Linked DNA regions of Homo sapiens: region 1 is linked to region 2. Evidence: promoter capture Hi-C in 16 types of primary human blood cells and fetal thymus (Javierre and others, 2016). All regions are on one chromosome and are shown on one strand. The core of a region is centred on a gene start or on the middle of the fragment in contact, and the rest is flanking DNA. Distances in the headings are between cores, read along the strand shown.

The links. The method cuts DNA at HindIII sites, captures the fragments that hold promoters and counts their contacts. A CHiCAGO score of 5 or more calls a contact.
Region 1: a contact is called between the fragment with the promoter of S100A12 here and the fragment with the promoter of LCE2C in region 2, in 4 of 17 cell types (endothelial precursors, total B cells, non-activated CD4 T cells and 1 more). The highest score is 9.3, in endothelial precursors.

What each region holds. Positions count from the first base shown.
Region 1 is chr1:153,374,008-153,376,905 of GRCh38, reverse strand. It overlaps S100A12 (S100 calcium binding protein A12), which reads left to right and starts at 1,285. Exons shown (of 3, transcript NM_005621.2): 1 at 1,285-1,354; 2 at 2,294-2,451. The coding sequence starts at 2,314. The HindIII fragment of the contact is 5,829 bases long and covers 1,187-2,898 here.
Region 2 is chr1:152,673,685-152,676,911 of GRCh38, reverse strand. It overlaps LCE2C (late cornified envelope 2C), which reads right to left and starts at 1,633. Exons shown (of 2, transcript NM_178429.5): 1 at 1,584-1,633; 2 at 343-917. The coding sequence starts at 896. The coding sequence ends at 564. The HindIII fragment of the contact is 8,836 bases long and covers 1-3,227 here.

The DNA.
Region 1 (2,898 bases), core at 36-2,535, 700 kb before region 2:
TCCCCCAATATCCACTGTTTCTCCTTCAAATATTGAAGCCCTCAAAATCATCTTTGGAGAAAGACGTAGACCTACCTCTGGGCACGCATCCTTAACTTTGGCCAAATAAACCTCCTAAAATGATTGAGATTCACCTTGGTCATTGTCATTGATTTACACAAGCCTGATCATCCTGCTCTGGTGGTGTCCTCCTGGGCCTAGTGAAACAAATACTGTCAATGGCTTAACAATGTTGCACTGAGATTGTGTCAGTCAAGGTGACACATGGATCGGAGAGACAGACTTTTGCCTCCAGATCCAGAGAGGTCGGTGGGCACATGAAATGAACTAGCTTTGCTAAGGGGGATATCTGTGTTGTGGGGTAGATGGCAGCACAGGTTCTGGCATGGCCTTGATTGCTCAGCAATCTTATTGACCTCTAGGCATAAACCAAGGGCAGAGTGCTTTTGGATGTCCCTTAGCTTTGGTGCGACATGGGGAATGTACAGATGAGACTTAATCCATTTTGGGCAGGTTTCTGAATCTTGAAGGACCACCTCTCCATGAATCCTGGGCATCTGTTGTCCCTTGCTGCCTCTCTGTGAGTAATAAAGTTGCTTTACTAAAACTCGTGTGAATGTTCTGTCTTACTGAACTCATGAACATGGTAAAGTAACCTAGGCATGGTGAACTTTCTTCACACACAATGATTACCCTACTCCAGCTTTCTAGGTCTTTGTAACAGCCAAGTTAGAAAGTTGGGAAAGCAAAGGGGAGGCATAGTAGCATTGCTCTCTCCTTTTTTGAAAACCTTGGAATCTATTTTGAAAACTGATCCTCTGCTCCAGTGATGAACTTTGCATCCCAGAACGACTTAGGAGGAGGTCTCCCTACCTATCTCCTTAGCTGCATAAAGATCTTTAAGTTGATATTCCATTTGCCAAAACTGAAGAGCTGGTAACCTCATCTGTTAAAACAAGACACTCAGGCTGTAAAGTTTGTTCTCCTAGTCTTTTATTAGGGAGCAGTGGAGTAGAGCTAAACCTGAAACCTGGGCCCTGGCTCAGGGCTAAAAAAGGTTCAGGGCACCCCTGTGCGGGTGGGTGGAGTGGGGGTGATTTTGTTTCAGGCTGAGCAGGAGGGCAAAATTCAGTCTGGGTACAATCTGGGCTGCTCCTGTGGCAGCCTAAGCCACAGGTTTGAAGCTTCTATTGAGCAACAGAGTACTTTACATAAATTGCCTCAAGATGAATCAGAGATTTCTTCACCCAAGGGCTAAGATGAAGCCTGAACTGATTATAAAACCTTCCTTGGCTCAGTGCCCTTCACCACTGCTGGCTTTTTGCTGTAGCTCCACATTCCTGTGCATTGAGGGGTAAGTGCATTTTCCTTGGATGGGTTCTTAGGTGGTCCACAGGGTAGTGACTGCAGGTGACCACTTTGAAATCACAAGGTGTTGGAAACCACAACCCTCCACTTGCCTGAGCACCTCTGGGGTGATATTGCATTTTGGACCCAAGTAGATCAGCTCTTGTTGTGCTATGTAGACTCAGTCCCATGATTTAAGAATGGCTAAGCAGGCCGGGTACGGTGGCTCACGCCTGTAATCCCAGCACTTTGGGAGGCCGAGGCGGGCGGATCATGAGGTGAGGAGATCGAGACCATCCTGGCTAACATGGTGAAACCCCGTCTCTACTAAAAAAATACAAAAAATTAGCCGGGCGTGGTGGCGGGTGCCTGTAGTCCCAGCTACTCGGGAGGCTGGGGCAGGAGAATGGCGTGAACCCGGGAGGCAGAACTTGCAGTGAGCCGAGATCGCCCTACTGCACTCCAGCCTGGGCGGCAGAGTGAGACTCCGTCTCAAAAACAAACAAACAAACAAACAAAAAACCCAAAACAACAACAACAAAAAAAGAATGGCTAAGCAGGGGTGGGTTATGGACCATTTGTGGGGGATATGTGGCCATAGTGCCATCACCTGAGGAAAGCAAACAGCCTGGCCAATCACAGAACCCTTCCCAAGGGACCTTGAGTAAGCAATACCCTCCAAGTTATGCACCCCGGTGGATGAGGTGGTATGGAACATGGGCAACTGAGGCTGATTTTTTTAGACGTTAGACAGTATTATATGTTTTCTCCTCCCCATCCTATCCACACATGAGAAGTTCACCATGGATCAAACAGAGCAGAGACCACAAAATAGATATGGAGGATGTTATGTTTTCTTTAGGCCCTTGATTCAGAAAGAGAGGGGAGAGTGGAGGTTGAGGGGTGGGGGAGAAACTGCCTCTAGACTTCCCTTGTTTCCTTGAAGGTTAACATTAGGCTGGGAAGATGACAAAACTTGAAGAGCATCTGGAGGGAATTGTCAATATCTTCCACCAATACTCAGTTCGGAAGGGGCATTTTGACACCCTCTCTAAGGGTGAGCTGAAGCAGCTGCTTACAAAGGAGCTTGCAAACACCATCAAGGTAGGTGATGCCCCTCTCACTGCAAACTTGCCCATGACCCTGCACTGAGGGGAGTGGCAAGGCCTGGCAGAGGATGGTGGGACAAGGACTGGGGTGGGGTTGGCCCCAGTTTGAGCTCCCAAAGGATGCTCTCCCCGCTGCTGTGGGAGAGGTCCTTTGCTTCCCTCTCTCAATAACTCACTTAAGGCTCTACTCAGTTCCTCTCTCTGAGTCTGTTTCCTCATATGTAAAATGGAGAGAGGCAGGGCACGGGAGGGGTTGAATGAGTGAGCAGAAGAGTACCTTCCAGGTCAAGCCTTGTTAATTCCAGGGTGGTTCATGACCATTGTGTTCTCTGTTTTGTTACACTGGATTCTCCAACACAGTGTTGGCTAATGAGTTAATGTGCCTGGGCCTTCACAACCCGAGCTCTGAGGGATAAGAGGCCTAAGAAAGGGTCTTGTGTGG
Region 2 (3,227 bases), core at 384-2,883:
TGATTCTAAGGGCAGGAAAGTTTTGCTTCATAGGGATGTGTTCTTCTCCCTAGAGAAGAACAAGTCTGCAGAGCTTCCCAACCTTCCCAACGTCTGGATTACACAGAAAATTAGAACATGTGTCTGGCTTAGTGGAGAGAAAGGCAAAGCTACCATAGCCAGAGGTGACCCTCTTGGAGCTCCATTCACTCAGCATCTGGGGGAATCAGTTCCTCAGAGCAGCTTTTCATGTATCACCTACTCATGTCCTGTCCTAGCCTCATGAAGAAAATTACTCTGAGGCCCTGACCTTTGGAGGACATTTGAAATCTCAGAAGAGAAGAGAATGACCAAGACATTTAGTGAGTCAGAGATCAGAGCTTTATTATAACATGAGGTAAAGGAGGAAAAGAAGACTTGCAATTGGGGTGTTACATCAAGCACGAAGTTCTTCCAGGAAAGCCCCATGAGTCTTTGTGGTCTCTGCCAACCAATGAATGGAATGAGAGGAAGTGGAAAGAGTATCCATCAGGCCGTAGCAGGTTCTTGGCCATTCAGTCCCAAGAGCTCTTCTGTAGCCCAGGTCAGCAGCAGCCCCCAGAGCTGTGGCAGCAGCCAGAGCCCCCAGAAGGTTCACTCTCACAGCAGTCGGGGCTCTGGTGCCGGCGCCGGTGGAAGAGACGGGGCCTGTGGTGGCTCAGGGAGCAGCCACCAGCCCCAGAGCTGCAGCAGCCCCCAGAGCTGGGACCACAGCAGCTCCCAGAGCTGGGACCACAGCAAGAAGAGACTGCAGGGAAACATGGAGCTGGGCACTGTGGTGGGCATTTGGGGGGACACTTAGGTGGACATTTTGGGGTACACTTGGGAGGACACTTGGGAGGGGGCTGGCACTGCTGCTGGTTTTGCTGGCAAGACATGCTGGCAGGAGTTTAGTCAACCTGAAAGATAATAATGAAACTCTTTAAATATTTCAAACCAAGGATCATATTATACCTCTTCTAAAATCAATGCATGTGTAGAAGAAGAATGATATTTAGATAATACAATCACATCAGTAACCTGAAAGAAACAACTTGAATCTTTCCTCTAGATAAAAGTACGTAGATAAAAAATCAACAGAATGAGCTTCTTACTCTTCCTTTCAGGGGAAACTGCGATTGCTCTATCCTCACAAGCCCGAATAGAGTATTCACAGCTCCCTGAAGTACCTATTCCTTTAATACAAGCCCTAAGGACAAGCTGGGTGTTGCAGGACATACCAAGGGGTCCTCTGGAAAATATTTTGCAATGAAACCTCCAGATAAAAGAGCCTGGCTTGAAGTATTTGCCAGTTTCCATGGTGTAAATATGCCCAACACAGCAGTTTTGAAGTTACCAACATGAAGTCACTGAACACAGAATTGGAAAAGATGTGCACAGTTAGCTTTCCCCACCTATATGAGCTCCGGTAGGCCTCAGAGCCTCAACAGATTCGAGGCAGGCTGAGTCCCATTCCTGCTCAGTATGGCAGAACACAAGCACACAACTCTTTCTCCAGCCTACCTCCATCCTCCCCATCCCTCTGCCTTGCTCATACCCCTCTGGTATCCCAGGTTGCCACTCACCCTGGTCACACGCAGGAGCACAGACACGTCCCTGGGGAGTCAGAGCAGATGAGATGCTGAAGCTGGATGTGTCTTTTATAGGGCCCAGGCTTGGCTCTGGAAAGAGCAGGAGGTGGCTCTTGCACAACCAGGCACACGCTGGGTCATTCCTGACATTCTCCTGCCTCTTAGTCCCTGCAATCCAAAGAGGCCTCAGGAGCTTCCAGGACTCCTCTCTGGGGCTGCAGTCTAGAGAGGCTGTAGCCAGTCAGAGCCTCCACCAGGTGGGAACCCTAAAGAGTTAACTTAGGGTACCCAAGGGACCCACACCTGGACAAGATTCTGTTCCCTGCATTTTTTTAATGCATGTCCTCTGAGGAAACATCAGTTCTGAGCCACAGCTTTCCCTGACCTTGTGGAAATGTTCCATTATGACTCCCTCCACCCTGAGCAGTTTCTCTTCCATGTCCTGCTGTGGATCCAGCCATCCCAGAGGGCTTCTACAGCCTTGGCTTTTTCTAGGCATCCCTCCCTTGCCTAGGCTCTCAGCCCTTCCTCCTGGCCTCTGTGTTTCTGCTTTTCCTCCGACTCACCATGGCAAGCAGATTCGGTGGATTAAATCTGAGTTGATTCTGTCACCTAAAGCAAGGAGAATGATTGAGAATAAACAATTCCCTCTAAAATCTAAACATTTCCTTCAGTCAGAGGACTTGTATTGAATGTGCTACTGGAATCAGAAAACTTGCATATGATAACTGGGTAATCTCTGAAAGTTGCTGTAACAATTATCAATAATTGCTAGAGTATTACTATGATACTCACTGTGAGTATCAGTTCTCACATATAATGCCCATTATAAACCTATCAGTGAGATATACCTATCTCACTGAGCTGTTTGTAATATAAAGTGAGAAGCAAGAAAGAGCTAAGTATGACATTTTGTGCCTGATAGACCCTTAATAAATATATGTTTAATAGAAAAACTAATGCCATGTATTGGATACTTGCCCCGGTCTTATGTGTCATTAATTGCCCATATAGAGCCCTTACCCTCAGAGAGCTTAACTCCACCAGACACTTAGATTATTTGAAACCTGTCTTGGGAAGTAGACATCATTTCTTGGGGCTCCTATGCAGAGGGAACTCCTTTCCTACCAGGAAGTAGAGGGTCAGCCAGGAATCTAGTTATTCAGAGTTCTGATTCAGGGTTGCACTAGACAGAGTTACCCAGTCATTTATTCATTTAGTTTAAACAGATACATTGAGTGTGAACCTTGAAAACATTACACTACGTGAAAGAAGCCAGTCACAAAAGACTGCATATTGTATGATGTTATTTATATGAAATGTGTAGAGTAGGCAAATCTCTGGAAATAGAAAGGGGATGAGGCTTTAGCCAGTTACAGCCTCTCCCAGGCTGGACCCCTGAAGAGCTGACTCAGGGCATCCGAGGAACAAGAGCCTGGATGAGATTCTGTTCCCTGTATCTCCTTTTATGTTTATGCCTGTCCTCTGAGAAATATCAGTGGCTTCCAGGTGCTTTAGCGGGCTGGGAGATATTGAGAAGTTACTGCCAATGGATACAGGTTTTCTTTGTGAAGTAATGAAAATGTTCTAAAATTATGGTGGTGATTGTCCAACTCTGTGAATATACTGAAAACCATT